Linked DNA regions of Homo sapiens: regions 1, 2, 3, 4, 6 and 7 are each linked to region 5. Evidence: promoter capture Hi-C in 16 types of primary human blood cells and fetal thymus (Javierre and others, 2016). All regions are on one chromosome and are shown on one strand. Each heading gives the region's core, a stretch centred on a gene start or on the middle of the fragment in contact. The rest is flanking DNA. Distances are from core to core; before and after follow the strand shown.

Region 1 (3,069 bases), core at 238-2,737, 4.1 Mb after region 5:
TTTAGTAAGATTGCAATGGGACAGCCCTTTGATGAAAAATCTAAGGAGGGTAAAGCCAATGTAACTGAATTAGAACAAGAGTTCCAATTTTGAGCTACCATCCACCAAATAATTTCCCTTTTGCTTTGCATATTACACAGTGAAAATAAACAGTTATATTAAGAGCACTTCAGTCCCACAAGGTAGGATTTAAGCTTTGTGAATAGGTGTAAATGGCCCTGTAACAATATGATGCCTGCAAAAATACATTCAACTGAAAATTAATGTCTGTTCTTTAACTAGTAAGGAAACGGGAAGCTAAGTGGTCCCACTTAAACAATAAAACAAAACAAAACAAAAACCACTGTTTATCCTTTCTGGAAAGACTACCAAAGCAAAGAACATCCAATAATATTATAAATTTAAAACTGCATACTTTTACTCATCTTTACAAGTAGGAAAGATGCATACAAACTACTCATGGGCTTTATAAATAAAGACACTAAGCAGAAATAATATTTGGGTTATTTCTCTGTTCGTAAATACACAGAAATAAAACAATTAAAAAACACTAAAGTGCAGACCTATAGGCCAATACAGGCATGATAAAGAGGTGCAGCCAAATTTGCATCTACATTTACACTTACATACCCAGAAAATGATTCTTGCTTTAAAAAAAAAAAATTGTGCAATTTAAAAACTAGTCAGTTTTGTTTGTGCTGTAATACAATTAGAACTTGTCTCTGCCCACTAGTGAAGTGACTGCTAGACCTTAGATAGCACACTAGGCTCTTGACAATCACGTATCTCATTAGAATCATACAACATTGATTCCACCTCCAGAAAATGTTAGGGTCCTCTTGTTGTAGAATGAAGAGCCACTGGTATTTGGTTGATTGCCTTTAACCAGAGAAGATTTCAGTTCCATTTCACAAGCTACAATAGCTGCATTCAATTCCACTTGAGCTCGATGAACTACATAAAACATGAGGCCTATACTTATAATAATCTGTGAATAAAAATAAAACATTACAGTTATCAATATTTTATACAAAAAAAAGAAATAAATCCAATAAATATTTGGCTTAGAAATGCTTCAAACAGGGTGCTTCTCAAAGATGGTAGGTAAAGGGTTATACATTTTTAAATAGTTTACACACAGTTATTGTTTATTCTTTCCTTTGCTGCTTCTCCTGGTAGTGGAGGACCAAAGTCTACAGGTAACCATGACATGGTATTAGGAAAACACACATTCCTTTTGGTTCACTTGATACAAGCCAAACCTGTCTCTTTGTACCAAAAAGCTTTCTTCAAGGAATAAAAAATGTCTACAATAGAGGTAACAGCTGGCTAAACTTTGTTGGTATAATTAATGTAGTATTATACCTTTGCATGACTATAAATGTCCATAGGTATTTCTAAGCCCACTTAGTGAGAAGCACTACTATTTGCAATGAACTACCTGGTGAAGACAAAATTAAAAGTATTACAGACCACTTAAAAAAATGAAATGCCAATAAACTTCCAAAGAATTAACAAGAGATTGTGAACAAGTAATTGCCTGTACTTAGGAAAAAACAAAATCAGAGGAAAACATGATGATTATTTAAAAATGTTAGTCAAAGGGATACTAGAAAAATCATCACACTGATCAAATTGAAAGTCAGGTTTCTAGTCTTAGCTTAGCTATTCACTAGTGATGTGTGATTTAGGGAAGCTTCAGTTTCTCATTGTCCTATAGGAAGCTGTGGTCCCTCTGTACTTTTTTTTTCTTTCTTTTTTTTTTTTTTTTTTTGAGATGGAGTCTCGCTCTGTCGCCCAGGCTGCAGTGCAGTGGCACAATCTCGGCTCACTGCAACTTATGCCTCCCGGGTTCAAGTGATTCTCCTGCCTCAGCCTCCTGAGTAGCTGGGATTACATGCATGCGCCCCACGCCTGGCTAATTTTTGTATTTTTAGTAGAGACGGGATTTTACCATGTTGGCCAGGCTGGTCTCAAACTCCTGACCTCATGATCTGCCTGCCTCAGCCTCCCAAAGTGCTGGGATTACAGGCATGAGCCACAGTGCCCGGCCAACTTTAGCATTCTATGTACAGCTCCTCAGAATGTCTAAGCAGTGTACATTTTCTAAATGAGTTTTATTCCAAAGTTCATTTGTAAATCAGTTCTTTAGGATTTGGAGCAAACACAGCAGGTGTTATTTAATGTCCCAGCAAGTTTACAAAGGCTGCTGTAACCAAAAGTGATACGGAAATATAATACAATTTCAATGAAATCTACCCATAATTATAACATAAGCTTTAAAGGGAAAGTATTCTAAATCCAAGTGCTGAGGGTGGTTGGGGGAGGAGATAACAGAAGCAGAGCATACTGGGGGTATGGTAAGTGTGAGAGGGGAGGAACTTGGAACTTGCACAAGGGGGTGCCATTAAATGAGTACCCATCACTCAGTAAAATCGTAAATAAGTTAGGCATCTTAAAGCTGGGTCTTTAAATTCTGTAACTGTTTTCTGTTACTTCTCTTAAAAGAAACAAGATATATTTACCGAAAACTCCTAAGTTTGCTATGTATCAACAAATGGAAACACCATGTAAAGAGATGAAAAAAATATGGGGGCGGGGGCGGGTGCTTTGTGAATTAGATGCTACCTTCTGTTTAAGACATGCTGAATTCGAGGTGCCTCTTAGATATCCAAAAAAGTTCATGGATGTCAGTGAAGGGGTCTGAAGCTATGGAAAGAGGGCTGAGCTAAAGACAAGTGCTGGGGAGTAGGATGAGGGCAGGCGGAGGGTCTTGACCCAAATACACATATTAGCAACCATCAGAGTAACTGGATTTGCTGTAAAAAAGTTTTCAGAGTAGGACTAGAAAACTTAAGCTAGGATCTTCAAAAACACAGATATAAGGGGTGAAAGGAAGAAGTTAAGCATAAGCTAGGCAAGTGGAAAAAAAAAGTTAAGACAGTGGTATCAAAGAAACTAAGGAAAGAGTGTTTTAATAATGAAGGCACTGTCAGGAGTCTTAGACTACTAACAGGTCAAGCTAGATGAGAAATGGAAAGTACATCTCATTTAGACAAGCTTACTGAC
Region 2 (3,233 bases), core at 398-2,897, 3.5 Mb after region 5:
AGAAAATGGTAACAGTCTCAGTACCTCATTCAACAAAGTGTTTGATGGCTCACCATGCACCAAACATTGTGCTAGATATGAGGGATAGAAGGATGGTAAATTTAAAAAGGTAGGCACCCCGCCCCACAGCTGCTAATATATAAGAGAAAGACGCAATTGCAATTGTAACAAGAGCCCCCAAAAGGGAAATTCAGTGCCCTATGAAAACATACAGCTAAGGCAAGGGCTGATTTACCTGAAGCTAGTAAATTTCAGGGCCTCTTGCTTGCACAGCTCTTCCAAGGCCCCAGGGCCATTTCTTTTTTCCAGTAAAATTCACAAAAGTAAGTTATTTTAACAAAAGGAGTTAAAATAATTCTCTTTCCATTCCTATTTCTGTCAAAATTCCTCTCATGTTGGATGATGTTGGAGTGGTCACCAGCAGTTGGGGTGTCTGCTAAACTGAATTGGGGAATTAATTTATTTCTTAGATCAGTTCAGAAATACTTGTGTGGTTTGTTGTCACTTCACTATAGAGTTAATGCTCTATACTGTCCTTTGGTGGGGCTGTCTTCCAGCAGACTGGACTATACTTTCTGCCCACCTTGTGACATTTATGTGCAGGGCCAGAGGTGGTATTGAAATGTAGAAGTGTCCAGTGGTACTCAGCTCTGGAAGTAAATGGGAATTGGAGGAGAAGCAAAGTTTGAATTGTTTAAAGTGTATGAAGCCATAAGCTAGTATCAAATTATGTAAAAGTGTTAGCAGAGGATATGGTTTCATGGATGCATAGTCAAAACAGAAGTTTGTCCCCATCATGAATATTCACAATTTAGTGTTTACTATTATGAATGCACCATGCTTTTTAAAAATATGATAATAATTGCATACAATAGAAATTTTTAGAAATTCTGTCTTGGCCAGATACAAATCTGTGGTGGTCCTATGAGTGGCAAATCTAAGTGTGTGTGAGGTATGATTTAGCACTTGAACTCCTTATTCTCTCTATTAAAAATATGCTTATAAAATCTTCAATAAAGGAAGAGGTGATCAAAGAGAATGCAGCTCCGAAATGTAGACGGAAATTGCAATTAGAGATGTGTTAGACATTTAAGTAGTTTGAAACATTACTTTATATTTGTGTGAAATTTAGGATACTGTAAATTTTTTGGAATTTGTAATTTGTTCTAATTTCTTCTTATATTGTAAGTTAATATTCATTTTTGCATCTAATTTTGTAATCTTTTTCTTAAATGGCTTCCCAAAGTTTATAAGCTTCAGGTACCACCAAACTTGGATGCTTCCCTAGTAGGAAGACCTGAATTAGTGTAGAAGTCAAGGTAACTTTTCCTGAGAAAACAAAATCAAAGCTGACCCCTGATTATGGGGTCAGAGGCAGCCATACTAGGGTGATGATGTGAAAGTGGGGAGAGGAGGCATGTGTGTGAGGGGAGCAGCCATTGCTGGAGTGTAGGAGTCTGCCAGTCACTAAGGCTGAACCATCAGATAAGAAATCAGAAGAAATAGCACCAAAGGGAAAAATCTGTCCTCATGATCCAATCACCTCCCACCAGGCCCCAATTCCAACATTGGGGATTACAATTCGACATGAGATTTGGGTAGGGACACAAATCCAAATCATATCACCAATGTTGCAACTTCTTCTTAGAAACAAGATGAACCCCACTTTTAGGCCTTTTGATTTCAGGAAATATTAAAAATTAAAAATAATATAACCATTTTTTCTGTTCATATTCAAGACAAGCTAGTGGTATAAATATTCAACCATATATTCAAGGATGAAGGTAATATCATTTTATTTTATTTTATTTAAATTCCATTCCTAGCCCTATCCATTCCTCCATGATTGTGGGAATTGTGGGAAATTCAACCTTAGTCATCTTTAGTGCCCTGTCTCCTTTCTTCCCTCTCGGTATCATAAGAAGGACACCAAGTCCTATACAGGCCTTTAGGGGAGGCCTCTCTGATTTTCAGTTCCTAGTGGTTATATTTTTCCTAACTGGTTTATTCCTTTGAGGTTCCAACCCTCTGCTTCTGTACCAAGCTTGGAGAACGACAGTAAAACAGAACCCAGAGTCCAGGCTGCCTAAGTGTTTTATGTAGCTATTTCCCTCTGACTAGATTGTAGAGTGTGGGTAACGTAGTTTGGATGTGTGTCCCCACCCAAATCTCATATATTGAAATGTAATGCCTGGTGTTGGAGGTGGAGCCTGGTAGAATGTGATTAGATCATGGGGGCAGGTTTCTCATGAATGGTTTAGCACTATTCCACTTGGTACTATCTTCACCATAGTGAGGGAATTCTCCTGAGATCTAGTCATTTAAAAGTGTGCCCCTTTGCCTTCCATGAGTGGAAGCTTCCTGAGGCCTCCCCAGAAGCAGATGCCACCATGCTTCCTGTACCGCCTGCAGAACCATGAGCAAATTAAACCTCTTTTCTTATAAATTACTCAGTCTTAGATATTTCTTTATAGGAATGCAAGAATGGACTAATACAGGGGGTCTACCTAAAACTTTTGCAAACTTCTTTTTCATGTCTAATGTATGGTTGTGGTAGACAGAATTCTAAGATGGTCCCATGAGTCCCAGTCCCTGGAATTCATGCTCTGTATAATTCCCTTCCCTTAAGTATGGACAGGAACTGTGACTCACTTCTAGTTAACAGTATATGGCAAAGGTGAAAGAATTGTGCAGATGCAACTAAGATCCTGTGAAAGAAAAACAGAATATAGGGACTGTGAACTCACTATGCCATAAGGAAAGTTAAGCTTGGAAACTCAGTCACCAATACTGTCTTTTTTGTTGTCGTTGTTCCCAAACTGATAGCTGTAATTTCATAATCCCAAGACATAGCATCATTTCCTCTACTCCCTCTTTTCACATGTTTACTTTATCTTATGTAAAATGTAGATTTACTGAGGCTAATCAGAGCCTCAAAAGAATGGAACCATCTGCCTCACTGTCTACCCTCTCTTCCTTTTTTTTTTTTTCTCTCCTGCTTGCTCTTTCTTTTTTAAATAAAGAATTTCCCAAAACCCCCTTTGGAAAAAGCATAGGTTACAGATGCTCTTGTGAGTTGCATTTTTTTCCCAGACATGTTCTCAACCTTGGCTAAATGATCGCTAACCCACAGAGATCTGCCTCAGTCACTTTTTGGTTTGCAGTCCCAAGTCAGTTGATTTTAGTTAATCAAAAAGGGGTTAAGACTATTTTCAGTGGGCCTCACTTAATCT
Region 3 (3,027 bases), core at 91-2,590, 4.6 Mb after region 5:
TGCATAAAAGTTTGTAAGCTGAAGTGCCAGATGGATGAACCTAGGCAGTACGATTAGTAATATATAATGATGATTAATCATCATGAATAGTCTGTGGCTCTAAATAATTCACTTTAAGAACTGCTTCATTTGAAGATGCAACATGAATGTTGCCCCAAAATCTTTTTCTTAGTACTGCTGTGTATGTGCATTTCCACCAGAGGGAACTGTATCCATTAGTTTTGTATGCCTCGGAAACTCAGGAAATGTTCATAGTAGCTTTGTTACTACTACATTAGGAATAATTAAAAATGCTTGAACTTTCTTAAAAGGATCATTCATATGAGTATTAGAGATTAAATCAAGAAATTAAGAAAAACCTTTTAAAACATCTTTTGAGGGACACTTATACATTTTTTTCATCTGTGAATTCATTTGAAGTAAGAGTTGCAGTTTTCACAATAGAGTAAATTTAAGTTATTAAAGAAAATCATTCTATGATCTCTGAAGTTAGAAGGCATAGTAGGATTCCCAGAGTTTGGTTCGCATCCTCTATTCTATGCTAGTTTCTTAAAAATGATATTTTAGGTATAAGAAAAATGTACCTCAAAGGAACGTTTTTGATTTACCACCATGCAGCAGAGTGCTTTCCATATTTTTGAAGTAATTTCTTAAATTCTTTCAAAACCTCAGGAAGGAGTATGTTCATCAATGGAATGTTCTTGTAATGGGGCAAGTACATATCCCATAGTGCCCCCATAGATCGGGGCATTATGATTTTTACTTTCTTTTTGAGACAGAGTCTCACTCTGTCACCCAGGCTGGAGTGCAGTGGTGCCACCCATCATTGTTCACTACAGTCTCAATCTTCTAGGCTTAAGCTTTCCTCCCACTCCTGAGTAGCTGCACCACCATGCCTGGCTAATTTTTGTATTTTTTGTAGAAACGGGGTCTCCCTGTGTTGCCCAGGCTGGTCTCGAACGCCTGAGTTCAAGTGACTTTGACAAGTCTTGTAACCCTTTTTTTGCCTCAGATTCTAGGTCTTTAAAATAACGACAGTACCCATCCCATAAAGTTATTGAGAGGATTAAAGGAATTAATACACATAAAGTACTTAAAATGCTTGAGTGTTTGGTCATATGTCTTTTTTTTTTTTTTTTTTTTTTTTGAAACAGGGTCTCACTCTGTCACCCCAGTTGGAGTACAGTGGCGTGATCTTGGCTCACTGCAACCTCTGCCTCCCGGGCTCAAGTGATCCATCATGCCTGGTTAATTTTTGTATTTTTTTGTAGAGACATGGTTTTACCATGTTGCCCAGTCTGGTCTCGAATGCCTGGACTCAAGGTATCTGCCTACCTTGGCCTCCCAAAGTGCTGGAATTATGGGTGTGAGCCACTGTGCCTGGCCCGTAATCATAATAAGTCTTTAAAAATGTTAGCATTAATGTTCAATATTCACCATTATTCATCTGGCTTTAGGCTCTAATTTTATATTGTATGGTATGAAATTACTTAAAATTGTATATTTTAATCAAATAGAAATTCATTGATAGGGCAGTACAATTCATATACATATTCTACTCTTTGAAAATTATAGAACAGTGGTTGTCAACAGTATTTGTAGATTAGAATCATCTGAAAAACTTTAAAAAAATAAATATTTTGTTCTTCCCCCTGCCCATTTTCTCACATTGTAATTTATTTGGTCCGGTGCTTGAGCAATGGTATTTAAAAATTTTTTTTGTTATGAACATTTTCAAGCGTATTCAAAAGTAGACTAGTATAATATACCTAGTCTACCCATTGCCCCTCTTCATTAACTGTGGCATTGATATTTTTTACAAAGCTTTTGTGCAGGCAGGGCTTGAGCAGTCTCTGCATTTGATTTAATAAATACAAGTTGAGCATCCCTAATCTGAAAATTTGAAATTCGAAATGCTCCCAAATCAAATTTTTTGAGGGCTGACATCACAAGTGGAAAATTCTACACTTGACTTTATGTGACAGGTCACAGTTCAAACTTAGTTTCATGCACAAAGTTATTTAAAATGTATAAAATTACCTTCATGGTGTGTGTGTAAGATATGTATGAAACATGAATGAATTTTGTGTTTAGATTTGAGTCCCATCCTCAAGATATCTCATGTAGTATATGCAAATACTCCCAAATCTGAAAAATTCAAAAACTAAAACAATTCTGGTTCCAGGCATTTAGGATAAGGGATATTCAACCTGTATTATATTTATTTATTCAACAGATATTTATTAAGTGCCCAGTATATACCAGGCTCTCTGTGTACAGTGGTGAACACAGCGTATCCCTGCTCTGACTGGTTGCCCGTTCACACATATTTGAATGTGATTTACATTTTTATTTTCCTTACTGATACTTTTTTTCTTCCTATAGCTAAGAGCTCTGTCTCACATTTTACAAACACCAATAGAGATAATACAGGCAGATTCTCCTCCCATTATAGTTGGTGAAGAATATTCAAAAAAACCACTAATACTTGTGTAAGTACCTAGACATTTTTACTGTTTTATTTTTCACAATTAATACAAAAAGGAATATTAAAAAATTTAGATTATATGTGTTAAAATATGTGACTTAGATAATTTTTTAAACCTCTAGCGATTTATTTTTGTGTGTGAGTTTAGAATAAAGTCATTTCTAAAGGTTATAACATTTTAGGACTAGTTTGTATACTGTCCTGGTTTGACATTAGTAATGCTAAAAGTTTCAACAAGTGTTAAAAGTTGAAATACATTCATGTTGCCTGTTTATTCCTTAGATTTATTTTTCTTCATTTTATGAAAATATCTTACATGATTTAGAAATCTCTTCTGAAATACAGCATGCAGGGTTTGCTATTGGCTTTAGTATTTTTTAGCTAAACCTATTAAGATAGTCATCAATGGCTAGATGACAATTTAAGCTGATTGAACCTTCAGCATCTCAGCCTTTTCGTTTTACCCCAGTGATTGAACCAGATCTTGCTGACTGCTGCCACTTTTCAAATGGTGTTGAACTCTTAATTAATATGTCCAC
Region 4 (3,091 bases), core at 458-2,957, 4.1 Mb after region 5:
AAACTCCAAAATCTGGAGTCTGCAACTAGCTCCTCCACTGTTTACTGAAACACTTCCTTTGGTCCATGTCGCTAAAAACTTGAATCAAAACCCTGGATGTATTTATGTAAGCAAGAGAGAAAGCTTTCCTCCCTAAATGTTGCCAAAGCTGCTACAAAAGATGACAAGTATTAAAGATGGGCATTTCCATTCATGTCCCTGCATGCCTATTGTTAAGAGGGCTTTTCATTTTTAATTACATTCCCATCCCTAAAAGAAACATTAGTTTTTTATCTAACAAACTCTCTTTCGAGGCTCCGCGTTAGGTATGTTTTATGTGTAGGACAGACTTCCCAGGCTGCGATGGAAAGTAATCGTAACTCCTGCCGTCAATGTCACTTCTCTGCTGGTATTTATCTGATAGAGCGCCCTCCTAGGGCCGCCACAAGACCGCTCAAAAACAGACTTGGAGAGGGATAGGCCAGCGGGACCCCACTTACCGAAAACACTGCATTCTGAAGCCCAAAAGGTATGGGTGTCAGTCTGGCCAGCGCCACCACTTTCAGGCCGCTTCCTCCCTCCACTACGCGAATAACCGCGCTCAGCTTCTCGCTGCTCTGGATCCTGGCGGCCACCCAGGCGGTGAGGAGCCGCTTGCAGACCACATGGGCGATGAAGGTGCCGATGAGGACGCCCACCATCATCAGACCCATGCCCAGCACGAAGCCGTACAGGTAGCCAGCGGCCACGTTGAGCACGATGTAGCCCCAGCCGCAGGGGAAAGAGACCACGATGAAGCCCACGACGAAGAGCAGGACCCCCAGCAGCGAGTCAAGGCTCTCCACCCACAGCAGGAGGTGGTGAAGGTAGCGGCGGACCAGGGCCAGGGAAGCGAAGCACAGGGCGGCCAACACGCAGACCAGCACGAGGCTCCGGCACCAACAGGTGCTGCCGAGGCAGCAGCAGCGCCAGTTTCTCACCTCAGCCACGCCGACCACCACGCCGCCGCCGCCACTCCCGGGGCCGCCCGCCAAGGCCCCGCCCGGCTCCGGCAGCTCCGAAGCCTCGGGCGGACCGTGGCGCTCCAGATAGGCGCCGAGCAGGGCGCCCGAGGCCGCCGCTGCTGCCGCCGCCGCGCTCGCCCCGCCCCCGCGGGGAAGGCGGTCCGCCGGGCCGTCCCCGCCCGCACCCCGCGGCAGGGCCCAGCGGGCCGGCAGCTCGGCGAGGCCCGGGAGGGCGGCGTGCTGCAGCAGCCGGGGCAGCGCCTGGAGCAGGATCCCGCCCGGGCTCCGCATGCCTCGGCCCAGCGCGGGCCCTCAGCCGGCCAGCCCCTCCGCCGCGGCGCCCGTTAGGCAGCTGCCCTTCATGGCGCCCGGTTCGCCCGGCATCGACTCCCTGCGTCCGCTCAGAGGGTGGGAGACGGCCCGTAGAAGGGCGCGGAGTCAGCGGAGGAGCGACGGCCAGGCGGGGAGTGAGGAAACTCCTGCCCCAGCACCCACGGAGCCCACTCCGGTGGTGCCCGCCCCTTGTCGGCCAGAGGGGGCGGGGCCGCGGGCGATGGGGCGGAGCGGGCTGTGTTCTGGTCCGCTCCCGTGACGCGCTGCCCGCCAGGCTGCGGGGGTCGCGGGGCGTCCGCGTGGGCCAGCGGAGGCCCACAGCTGCGGAGGGAAACCACTGGGAGGGGAGAAGGAGCTCTAGGGAGAGCGAGGCTGCAACGAGGGGAGAGCCGGGCGACGGGCAGGGGCCCAGGCGCGCTCCCCGACTTCCCACAGGCGCGCGCATGCCTGCGTGTCAGGGCGCGCGCTCCCCCTCTCGGACCGAGGCGACCCCAGTCCGTGAGCGGCTTGGATCCTCGCCCGTTCCCTCCTGGTCGTTTCCGCAGTAACCTCTTATCAGAGCGGGCAGCTGTGAGTGGCGCTCACATCCGCCGCTGCCCTGTCGAATGGGGGAAAGAGTTCTTGTGTTCTGAGGAGGGTTTGGCTATGGTCCTTGACCCTATTCTTGTCTCAGACTTGCCTCCCAGGTATCGAGGTCTCCCTGTGGGTTTCATATGGCTTGGTCCTTTAGGAGCTGGAAAAATTAGGCATAAAGTCCCCCCACCCCCTTGACAGAACGCCCCTTCTGACTCCAGAGGTCCTTTATCGAGTGCCAGGCATTGGTCTAGGGGCATTTGAAAAAGATTCACTGAAGGACATTTTTAAGAGTTCGCTTTCTCAGAGGGCAGCTTCTCAAACTCATTCGCTGGTTTCTTTTCCTCTTTCCGCCTGTTTAAGGTTAGTGTTCCCCAGGTCCTCTTGCCGTCTTCCTTTTCAGAGTTTCCTGAGCCATCTCATCCAGGCCCAACAGCTTTGATCCTGCCGTGCCCCCCATAAGAAGTGACCCCTAAGTGAATGTCTCTGCCCACACTTCCCAGCTTGTGGTCCGGCCTGTGGACACATCCAGGTGGAATTCTGCAGGCAGCTCAAACTCAGCAGAGCTTGGTAGATAGATGATCAACTTGGGCTCTGGTGCAAATCACGTTTAGTAACTGGTCAAACAATCAGTCCCTGAATCTCATTGTTTCTTTTTAAATTGCAAAATGGAGATAATGGTACAACTTAGCTTCGTAAGAGTGTTGTGAGGATTAAACAAAATAGTAAAGTAAGGTGATTAGCACTATGCCTGAAATCAGTCGTCAGTAAATGTTAACTATGTGATGGTATCCCTCATTAAAAGTGTGATCCCCCATAGACCGACTCTTCCTTCTGGGTTTCATATCTCAGTGGATGACCTTCCACCCAGTTGCCTGCCAGATAACGGACCAGGACACCTTAGGTCGTTGCTGATCAGGCTCCTGCTTGCTGGCTGATCAGGCTCCTCCATGCCATTCCCTCCTATCCACCCTGGTTGGGCTGAGTCAGGTAGAGTCCCTACTAGGTGCCAGGCAAGTGCTACATCCTTCAACTCTCTTTTCCAAGCCTTGTGACTCACACGGAGGAGCAGCTCTTACTGCTGCCACAGCATTTACCTAAAGTTTTACTTCCGTAAAACAGTACCAAGGAGGGATAGTGCTAAACCATTCATGAGAACTCCATTTCCATGATCCAATCACCTCCCACCAGGCCTCTCCTCC
Region 5 (2,989 bases), core at 168-2,667:
TCTCAAAGCGTATCTTATTGAGAAAAAGATATCCCCTGGAGTCGCCGCTCATCTAAAAATCACACTCCTGCTGGAAAGGAAGAGCTACAACTTATTTGCTACAACTTATTTGCAAATGCATGGATATTGCAAATTGTATGAAGTAAAATATGAGACACCAACACATAATAAAAATGAATCTTACAGACAAGATTATCATATATAGTAATTACTACATATAAAAATGTACATGGCTAACTTTTAAATTTTTTTGTAGAGACAGGGTCTCACTGTGTTGCCCAGGCTGGTTTCAAACCCCTGGACTCAAGCAATCCTTCCGCCTCGGCTTCCCAAAGTGCTGGGATTACAGGCTGAGCCAAGGGGCCAGGCCTAAAATGGGACTTCAAACTCATCATTGTTCCAATTTGAAAACTTACGGCTAACTAGTTTCATACTTAGAACTCCTCCCATCTCTCTGCCTATATTATCTATAACCTCCCCATTTGGTTATAAACTTCCAAGGAAGGGGAATATGCCAAATTTTAACCACCCCTCCCCACCATCAGTCCCATAATAATTCTGAAAGATTTTAACTGAGCAGTTAAAAATTTGAGTTTAAAATAATGAAACCCCTAGTTCATGTGAAATATATCATATGCATTAATGCCATTCCAATTCCCTGACAAGAATAAACAGAGGCCCACGAGCAGTCTAATAGAAATACCAGAACTGAGACTACAACATGCCGACAACCTTCATTGACGTTATGCAGATACAACGGGCAACTGAGAAATAAACATTTTTAAACAAAAACCTAAACAGTATGAAATCTCTGCTTCTGAGTCGTAGAACTTTTTAAATCACACACCACACTTTTCAAAGTCTGAAAGGGGCAGCCTCAAGCGCTGTTGTATCTGTCATCGCCTACAGGGAGAATAATTTCACAGCGGTCAAGGTTCTTTCCCGTCCTGTTTTACATTTCGCACAAGAAGGGCGGGTAGCAGGCAGCTTCTGGGGCGCGTGGGGGCAAACCCCACTCCTTCTCTGACAGCCCCAGTTAAGGATAGTGGAGGTTTGCAAAATGGAAGGGACCTGTCCGGGCGTTCCAGGCACAGTGGCCCCGAGTTCTTTCCTCGGTTCACCACATTCCTTAGGCAGCGCGGGGCCGCCACCACTTAAGTTAAGGGGGAGCCGGAACCCACTGAGTAGGAAGTGAGGAGCGGGAGCCAGGACCACGGGGGTACCTCGAAGCCGCGGAATCGACAGGGGCCGCAATGCCCGCGGCTGCCCGAAGTCCCCGCAGGGAGACGAGACCCCGGGGCGGCTCCACGTCGGAAAGGCAGAAGGCGCCACAGTCGAGCAGCCAGCGCCATGACCTGCAACTTGCGGGCTGACCCTGCACTACTTCAGGCAGCTACGGAGGCGGGCGGGGCTAAAGGAGATTCAATCCTTCCGGAAAGAACCGCGCCCGCCCGCCTCCTGCACAGCACCTCTTCCGCCTCCTGCCCAGCACCTCTTCCGCCCCCATGGTTTCCGGTGCACGGGCTTAGGGGGTGGGAAATACCCCGATTGGGTGGGACTTAATGGACTTTCCGCGCCTGCGTCCAGGACTGAGGCCGTGAGAGCGCTCTCTTCAGGCGCTCTGACTTGTTTCTGCTCCATCTCTCTAGGGGGTCTTTCATGGTTTGGGCACAAGGATTCGTCGCCAGAATAGAACTGAAAGCTCGGAAATAGACCCGAGAATACAAGTATGCCAGAAAAAAAATTGTCATTTTAATTATCTGCTGCCTTCAAAAGTAGATTGAATCTTGGTACTAGTGGGTCTTTTTTGGAAGTAAATAATTGGAAGAATTATGTTGCCCAACATGAAGAAGGGAAAGTCTCAGTCTCTTCGACTGAGCGACTCAAGGGGGTAGATTCAAGAGAGAGTCCAGAGCAAAGAAACAAAAAATGCAAAGCGTTTTGGGAAGAGGAACTAGCGGGAGGAGGCCTCTGGAAAGGATACTGATGCCCTTGAATGCTAGGGCATGTGTAGTAAAAAACAGAAACAAAAACAAACCCTGGTCTCCCCTAAAATTCTTCAATAAGATGTTTTACTTACTCGAGCAAAGTATTTTATTTTACTCGAGTAAAATAAAATTTCTTGCTCGAGTGGAATTCTTTTGTGGGAAAATGAAGAAATTTTGGATCCTACTTGAGGCCTGATCAGGGTGGGTGGAAACACAGACTGCAAAGGGAGTACCTACTATATGGGTTTAACGAAAAATCTTATGGGTAATAAGGGAGGCGAGTCATGGTTTTAAAAAATTAGGTTGCATTTCTATGGTACTTTTAATACTGTATAGGGAATTAATACATAGTCGTATTGATCTTCCGAACTACCTTGTGAAGTAAGTGGTATCCCAGGTTTACAAATGAAAAAACTGTAACTCAAAGAGATGTATTAACCTAACCAAGGATATGTTAGAAGACAGGAATCCATGTCTTTCTACTCTGAGTCCAGTGCTCCTTCTACTATATGATTGCTACCTCCACTAGTCCCATTAAATCAGCTGTATTTCTTTAGGATTATGTCTTTAAAGTCTATCTTTAAAAATATATAGATCTCCTTCCCAACTTCTGAAACCTAGCTGTTTTTTCCCAAAGACAGAATCACTTTTATTTTATGCATTTCTACTGGCAGCTACCCCCTCAACATTGCTAAATGTTTATGCCACTGGATACCATGATAACAGTGAAATTAAGTTTCTGATATCTCTGCTAGAGTGAATTTGTAATTAAGTTTTTAGCTTTGAAAAAAAAATTAGATCCTAAGAAAAGTTGCAGGAACTCCCATATATTCTTCAGCTAGATTCAGCCATTGTTACCTTTTTCTCACATTTGCTTTATCTTTCTTTACATATCTTACCTATAATACACATATTATATTCCTAGTATTTTCTGTTGTAAGGCCTTTTGAGAGTAGATTACAGATATCATGACTCTTCAGTCTTAGAAACAAGACATTCCC
Region 6 (2,984 bases), core at 444-2,943, 3.3 Mb after region 5:
GAGTTTGAGGATGTGTAATAGTGCACTGTGATCGTGCCTATGAATAGCTACTGCACTCCAACCTGGGCAACATAGCAAGACCTCATTTCCAAGAAGGAAAAAAAAAAGCAGAGCCACAGACTGGGAGAAAATATTTGCATAACATGTATCTGCTAAAGGGCTTGATTCTAGAATATATAAAAAACCCTGACAAGTCAATAATAGGACATATAGCCCTATTTTTAAATGAGTAAAAGATTTGAATTTCACCAAGGGAGATATACAAATAGCTAAAAAGCACATAAAATGATGCTTAATATTATTAGTCATTTGGAAATGCAAATTAAAACTGCAATGAGTTACCACTTCATACCCACAAAATAGCTATAATTAAAGACAGAAAATAACAAGTGTTGACAGTGATGTGGCAGAACCAAAATCCGTATACATTGTTGGTGGGAATATAAAATGATGCTGCCACTTTGGAAAACGGTTTGGCAGTTTCTTAAAAATGAAAGATAAATTTACCATACAACCAAGCAATCCACTAACAGGTAAACCAAGAGAAATGAAAACATATGTTCACACAGTTGTATGTGATTAGTGATAGCAGCATTGTTTATAATAGCCAGCAAGTAGAAACGGTCATAATTACTGCTGCTACTACTACAACAATACATGAATCTGTTGTTCCAGGAAGAGTCCAGGATCCTAATATAAAATTGAACATCACTAACATATTGATAGTCTGGACTGGTTCATCTAAGAAGGGAATATACATAGCAAAGAGAGGACCCATAGTAAAGCTCTGAGGCATTCCAGCACTTAGAAATTGAGAAGAGGAAGAAGAAAAAGGATTAAGGAAGAGAAGACAGTAGAGAGTGTAGTCCTTGTGTCTTGGAAGTCAAGGAGGGGTATAGTCGGACATGTTTAATCTGCCAGGAGGCCAAATGAGATAAGCAGGATTTTCCAACATTGTCATCACCGGTAATCCAAACAAATGGAGTTTTAATAGAGAGATGTAAACAGAAGACTGATGTACATTTAAAAAAAATAGAAAGAAGTGAAGGCAAATATGGAAAATTCCAGCAAGATGCTTGGCTCTGAACAGAAGCAGAAAAAAATGAGGTGATAGCTAAAGGATGATATGGGGTCAAAATTTTTTCCTATGGCCAGGCACAGTGGCCCATGCCTGTAATCCCAGCACTTTGGGAGACCAAGGCAGAGGGATTACTTGAGTTCTGGAGTTCCAGACCAGCCTAGGCAACACAGCAACACCTTGTCTCAACAAAAATAAAAATAAAAAAAAAATAAAAAATTAGCCAGACATGGTTCGTTGCCTGTAATCCCAGCTACTTGGGAGGCTGAGGCAGGAGGATTGCTTGAGCCCAAAATGTTGAGGCTGCAGTGAGCCTTGATTGTGCCACTGCACTTGCACTCCAGCCTAGCTGACAAAGCAAAATGCTGTTTCTTAAATAAAAAAAAAAAATCCTGGAGAAAGATAGATTACTTTATCTGGAAAAAATACTCTACTGGAAAAAATGATCCAGTAGAGAGTCAGAGATTGTCAGTGCAAGAACTGAGAGAGAGTATCAGAAACAGAATGCTGGAGAGGTGGAGGAAATGGTATTCAGAATGCAAGTGATACTGTTTACATTTGTATGAGTATATGGACACTTTTTTCTACTGTAAGAGAAATGAGGTTGGAGAGATGGATACAAGTACAAGAAGTTTGTAGATCTGGTTATAGAACCCTGAAGGAATTCCCTCTCATGGCTTCTATTTTCTCAGTGTAGTATGAGAGCAGATGATCAGCTAGCTCAAAGGAAACATGGAGGATGGGATGTAAGAGGCTGAAAAAGGGAAGATAAAGTACAATGCCTATTACCCCTGCCTTCCCTTTCTAAGTTCAGAATATATTAAGAAAAAGCCGAGGAAGAAAGATAGATGTTGATCAGAATATCAGTTTCATTACTGATAAAGCTAATTGGAGAATGTACCTTTAGATCTGCAGCCAAATGGGCTTAGTAGCATTTTACCCCTACAGTTGATAGCTTTACCAGCCCACCACAGGCCTCACCCTGCTTCTACATAGGGAAGCAGAAAATGTATGCATTCTTTAGGCAAGCTGACTTTTAAAAGAAGGAGAAAACTGCAAAGGTACCAAATAAGCATGCTTAGTTTTTCTCCAAGTTTAATAAATGAGGTAAGTCTGAGGGGCAGAAAGGAGCTGGAAGAATTCCTCCTATACTTCTCTTTCCTGAGGATTGAACTGGAAATGTCATCTTCCTGTTGGAAACATGAAGAAAAGGACTTAAGTGTCTCCTCCAACAGTACGAGATAATTATGTAAGACAGCAATTCTCAAACTTAGATCTCAAGACTCTTCAAAATTATTGAGGACTTCAAAGAGCTTTTGTATGTGTGGGTAATATCTATTAGCATTTACTGTATTAGAAATTAAAACCAAGGAATTTTAAAATGTAGGAATATACAAGAACACATTCCATTATCTGTTGAAGCAGTGATCTTATCACACCTTATTTATGGGCCTCTGGATAAATCCACTATATACTTGTTTGGGGATGACAGTGAACAGGGAAAATAATGTCTTAGTACTTGTTATTTTGAATATAGTTTTGACTTCATGAACCCTCAGGAACCACCCCCGCCAGGGGTCCCTGGACCACACTTTAAGAACCACTTATCTATGAGAACAGAATAGTAGATGTATTTAGGAAGCAAAATAGGATTGCTGAGAAGTGGTATTTAGTGTCTAGTTTGGGCCGTTAATTTAGAGAAACCAGCGACCCCACTTCTGGCCAAGATGGAGTAACTGGGGCCAATTTACCCTCCTGCCTGAAACAACCAAAAAACCTAGACAAAATATGTGAAACTGGTTTTTAAGACACTAAATATCAGGAAACAAAGAGCAGCAATCTCTGATGGATGGGAAACAAATGAAGTGAGCCTTCCGATTGCCCAGCTTCCTGCCTTGAGAGTTTC
Region 7 (2,938 bases), core at 438-2,937, 3.4 Mb after region 5:
CAACATCATTATATCCCTCACGTAGTTCTTGGTAAAGGTCCACCTGGTGGGGCTTGGCATGTGAGTATATTTTTCTTAGCATTTTAGTGTATGTGAATTATTTGTCTTGATAAGACCAACTTTATTCTTAAGCATTATGATAATGTTATATGTGATGTTTATCACATTTTTATTTGAGAAGAACTTTAATGCTGTTCAGTTAGTTAAATATGGGTTTATTACAAGTAGCAGTAAATCAAGCCAAATTTTATTACTGGTACAGTCTTAGAATAAGCATGTCTCTATACTATCTTACAAGAATTATGTAGAAAACATTTCAAGAATGTTTTGTATAATAAAAATTTAAAACTCAATTCATTTTAGACTTTACATAATCTCACATAGTATTTCAAAGCAGTATCCATTATTTTCTTACATTTTCAGAATCTTAAATGAAAAATGTAAAAGAGGTTGTGTTAGTCTGCTTGTCTGCGATAACAAAATGCCATAGAATTGATGGCTTAAACAACATATTTATTTCTCACAGTTCTGGAGGCTGGAAGTCCCAAGATGAAGGTTCCAGCCAGTTCAGTTCCTGGTAAAGGCCCTCTTCCTAGCTTTCAGATAGCTGCCTTCTCAATGTGTCCTCACATAGCAGAGAGAGAGAAATATTCTCTTCTTATGAAGCCAGTAATCCCATTCTGAGGGACCTACCCTCATGACCTCATCTAGCTCTACTTACCTCCCAAAGGCCCCATCTCCAAAAGCATCACATTGGGGGTCAGGACCTCAACGTAAGAATTTTGAGGGTAGATACAATTCGGTTCATAGCAGAGGTTAAACCAGAGAACCAGTGAATTAAGGATTCACTCAGTGCATTTCATTAGGGGGCCAGTAAGTAATAATTGTTCATCCTTCCTGTGTTCTTAGCAGTTAACACTGTGTCTAGTGTGTAGTGAGTGTTCATTTGTTATACAAATTGATGTTAAGTAATTTAGTTTGCTGTGTTATGAATTACAGACTTCATGGGAACTTTAACATATTACATACCAAATTTTTAGTACAAACTTCGGTTGGCTGTTCGTGTATTAGTGCAGTTTTGCACATCTGAAAAGTTGTTTACGTTTATAAAATGACTGTTTCAGGGTATCGGGACATTCCTAGATTAAATACGTCATGGGTTTCTTTTAAAATCTTTATTCTCTTTTTAATAATGAGTAGCAACTACCAAATTATTTGTTGCTTTTAGCTTAAGTTTTATGATTTTTACTTTTTCATATCAACTTTAAGCTTTATTTACAATAAGCTGCATCCATTTAGAGTGTATAATTTGACAAATGCCTGTAACTGTGAAACCACCAATACAAGATAAGAAAGAATTCTATCATGCCCAAAACTTAAGTGTTTATATTTTCTCTGTTAATTAGTAGCATTCTTAATTTTAAAAAAAGCCATAATGTATTTGGAAGTGGGGAGGGCATTTAGACTGCCTTCTCTGAATTCCTGAGGTTTTATTTTACTTACATTTTTTCCGCTTAGAAGAATGATGAGTTGTGCAGGCGATAATTGATCTGTTTCATTTCTTTCACTTATGTATAAAAAAGTTAGAAAGTATGGATAAACCCTGATTACTAAAAACACATTTTGAGCCAGTGATAAAGGTTAAAATATACCTAAAAGTTGCTGATTTTTTTCAGGCATGTATTCACTAAAATAGGGCTGTAAGTAATATTTCAGCTGTGTACCAGTTGCCAGTCATCACCTCTGTGAAGGTTCCTAATGTTCCCAGACATAATTACTTGATCCTACCTGCATTCCATATCTTAATCTTACTGTGCTTGCCTGTGGTACTATTTATCTGTTTATGCGACCATCTCCCCTGCTATGGTTTATGTACATCCTAATTAACCTGAGTTGTGACTTAAGACGTAAACTCCTTGAGTCATCACCCCTCTCTCCTACTTAGCTTCATATAGTTCTCTGTTTCTCTTGTGATCTAGTTTCTCATCACTCTTCTCTCTTCCAAACTTTCTGTGGCCCCTTGAACCAATTTTGTGATAAACAACTTGTTTGCTTTCCCACATCTTTAACCATTCTGTCAGATGCTGCTTCTGCTCCCTTTCTTGAAAGCTTACTCTTTCCTAAAGATACCATTCCCACTGTAGCCCTCTGAAGTGGAGCCTATTCATTCTCCCATAGCCCTATGTCCCATCAGGTTGGCTAGTAAGGTTGGTCTTCTCTTCACACCCCTATGCACTTGTGTAAAAAGCCCTGTTCCATTGAACAGATGATGCCATTTTCTAGCTTTTCTACCATTCCAGACTGTCTCCAGACTGTCTCCATTTCTGGCTTTTTTACCATTCCAGACTGTCTCCAGTTACTGAATCTGTGGCACCTAATTCATGGGTCTTCCATTATATCCCAAGTTTTGTTACCACCTTGAATAATTTTACCTCTACAAACATGACACAGAACCAAGATCTTAACCTTTTTGTTCCTTGGTCTCCTCATTCTTGATGATGATGTATTCTTCATTAGCTACTCACTCCAGTGGCTCCACTGTAGATCTTATCTGTCATAACTACTCAACTTGTAAAAACCTAAATTCTCAAATGTCTTCCTTTCTGATCACAGTTTCCTGTTCTTCAAGCTTATCACCCAGTTAATTCACACTATAGATAATCTTTGAACACAGAGCGTGCTCCAGGCTGTGATCTTCATATCCTTACTTACCCAGCCCAGCTTCTGTAGTCCATGGAGTTAACTATTCTCTTTAATTCCCTTAACCCATTGTCCTTCTGTCACATAGGTTTGTCATACAGGCAATTCATCTAACTATCCACTTTATCTTTTCTTACACTTGAGCAGTCAGACCCCCAGAAAAAAAATTATACAACTGTGAAAATATTCTCCACTCTCAGTTGGGGCCAAAACACTACTATAACCTTTGATATTTCCT

Evidence for each region. Contacts are between HindIII fragments. The CHiCAGO score rates a contact against its expected background, and 5 or more counts as called.
Region 1: a contact is called between a fragment that was not itself captured here and the fragment with the promoter of RMDN1 in region 5, in 1 of 17 cell types (naive B cells). The highest score is 7.3, in naive B cells.
Region 2: a fragment that was not itself captured here is called in contact with the fragment with the promoter of RMDN1 in region 5 in 3 of 17 cell types (non-activated CD4 T cells, naive B cells and total B cells); the score reaches 7.6 in non-activated CD4 T cells.
Region 3: a fragment that was not itself captured here is called in contact with the fragment with the promoter of RMDN1 in region 5 in 1 of 17 cell types (total B cells); the score reaches 9.2 in total B cells.
Region 4: a contact is called between a fragment that was not itself captured here and the fragment with the promoter of RMDN1 in region 5, in 3 of 17 cell types (total B cells, naive CD8 T cells and activated CD4 T cells). The highest score is 6.1, in total B cells.
Region 6: a contact is called between a fragment that was not itself captured here and the fragment with the promoter of RMDN1 in region 5, in 1 of 17 cell types (total B cells). The highest score is 8.0, in total B cells.
Region 7: a contact is called between a fragment that was not itself captured here and the fragment with the promoter of RMDN1 in region 5, in 1 of 17 cell types (non-activated CD4 T cells). The highest score is 5.2, in non-activated CD4 T cells.

Annotation. Positions count from the first base shown.
Region 1 is chr8:90,624,875-90,627,943 of GRCh38, forward strand. It overlaps TMEM64 (transmembrane protein 64), which reads right to left. Exons shown (of 3, transcript NM_001008495.4): 3 at 1-988. The coding sequence ends at 797. Among named protein-coding and RNA genes, the nearest start is that of TMEM64, 20 kb to the right of the region's middle. The HindIII fragment of the contact is 413 bases long and covers 1,282-1,694 here.
Region 2 is chr8:89,995,886-89,999,118 of GRCh38, forward strand. No RefSeq gene overlaps it. Among named protein-coding and RNA genes, the nearest start is that of DECR1, 4.0 kb to the right of the region's middle. The HindIII fragment of the contact is 790 bases long and covers 1,253-2,042 here.
Region 3 is chr8:91,081,623-91,084,649 of GRCh38, forward strand. It overlaps OTUD6B (OTU deubiquitinase 6B), which reads left to right. Exons shown (of 7, transcript NM_016023.5): 6 at 2,386-2,492. Among named protein-coding and RNA genes, the nearest start is that of OTUD6B, 13 kb to the left of the region's middle. The HindIII fragment of the contact is 964 bases long and covers 859-1,822 here.
Region 4 is chr8:90,644,632-90,647,722 of GRCh38, forward strand. It overlaps TMEM64 (transmembrane protein 64), which reads right to left and starts at 1,452. Exons shown (of 3, transcript NM_001008495.4): 1 at 480-1,452. The coding sequence starts at 1,274. LOC124906712 (translation initiation factor IF-2) reads left to right here and starts at 1,810. Exons shown (of 2, transcript NR_185471.1): 1 at 1,810-2,002. RefSeq lists an enhancer at 479-808 and silencers at 919-1,318, 1,449-1,858. The HindIII fragment of the contact is 3,173 bases long and covers 122-3,091 here.
Region 5 is chr8:86,507,269-86,510,257 of GRCh38, forward strand. RMDN1 (regulator of microtubule dynamics 1) reads right to left here and starts at 1,418. Exons shown (of 10, transcript NM_016033.3): 1 at 1,224-1,418. The coding sequence starts at 1,352. RefSeq lists an enhancer at 1,163-1,332. The HindIII fragment of the contact is 14,106 bases long and covers 1-2,989 here.
Region 6 is chr8:89,774,007-89,776,990 of GRCh38, forward strand. All of the region lies in intron 6 of RIPK2 (receptor interacting serine/threonine kinase 2), which reads left to right. Among named protein-coding and RNA genes, the nearest start is that of RIPK2, 18 kb to the left of the region's middle. The HindIII fragment of the contact is 4,773 bases long and covers 1-2,984 here.
Region 7 is chr8:89,914,687-89,917,624 of GRCh38, forward strand. OSGIN2 (oxidative stress induced growth inhibitor family member 2) reads left to right here. Exons shown (of 6, transcript NM_001126111.3): 4 at 1-60. Among named protein-coding and RNA genes, the nearest start is that of OSGIN2, 14 kb to the left of the region's middle. The HindIII fragment of the contact is 840 bases long and covers 1,268-2,107 here.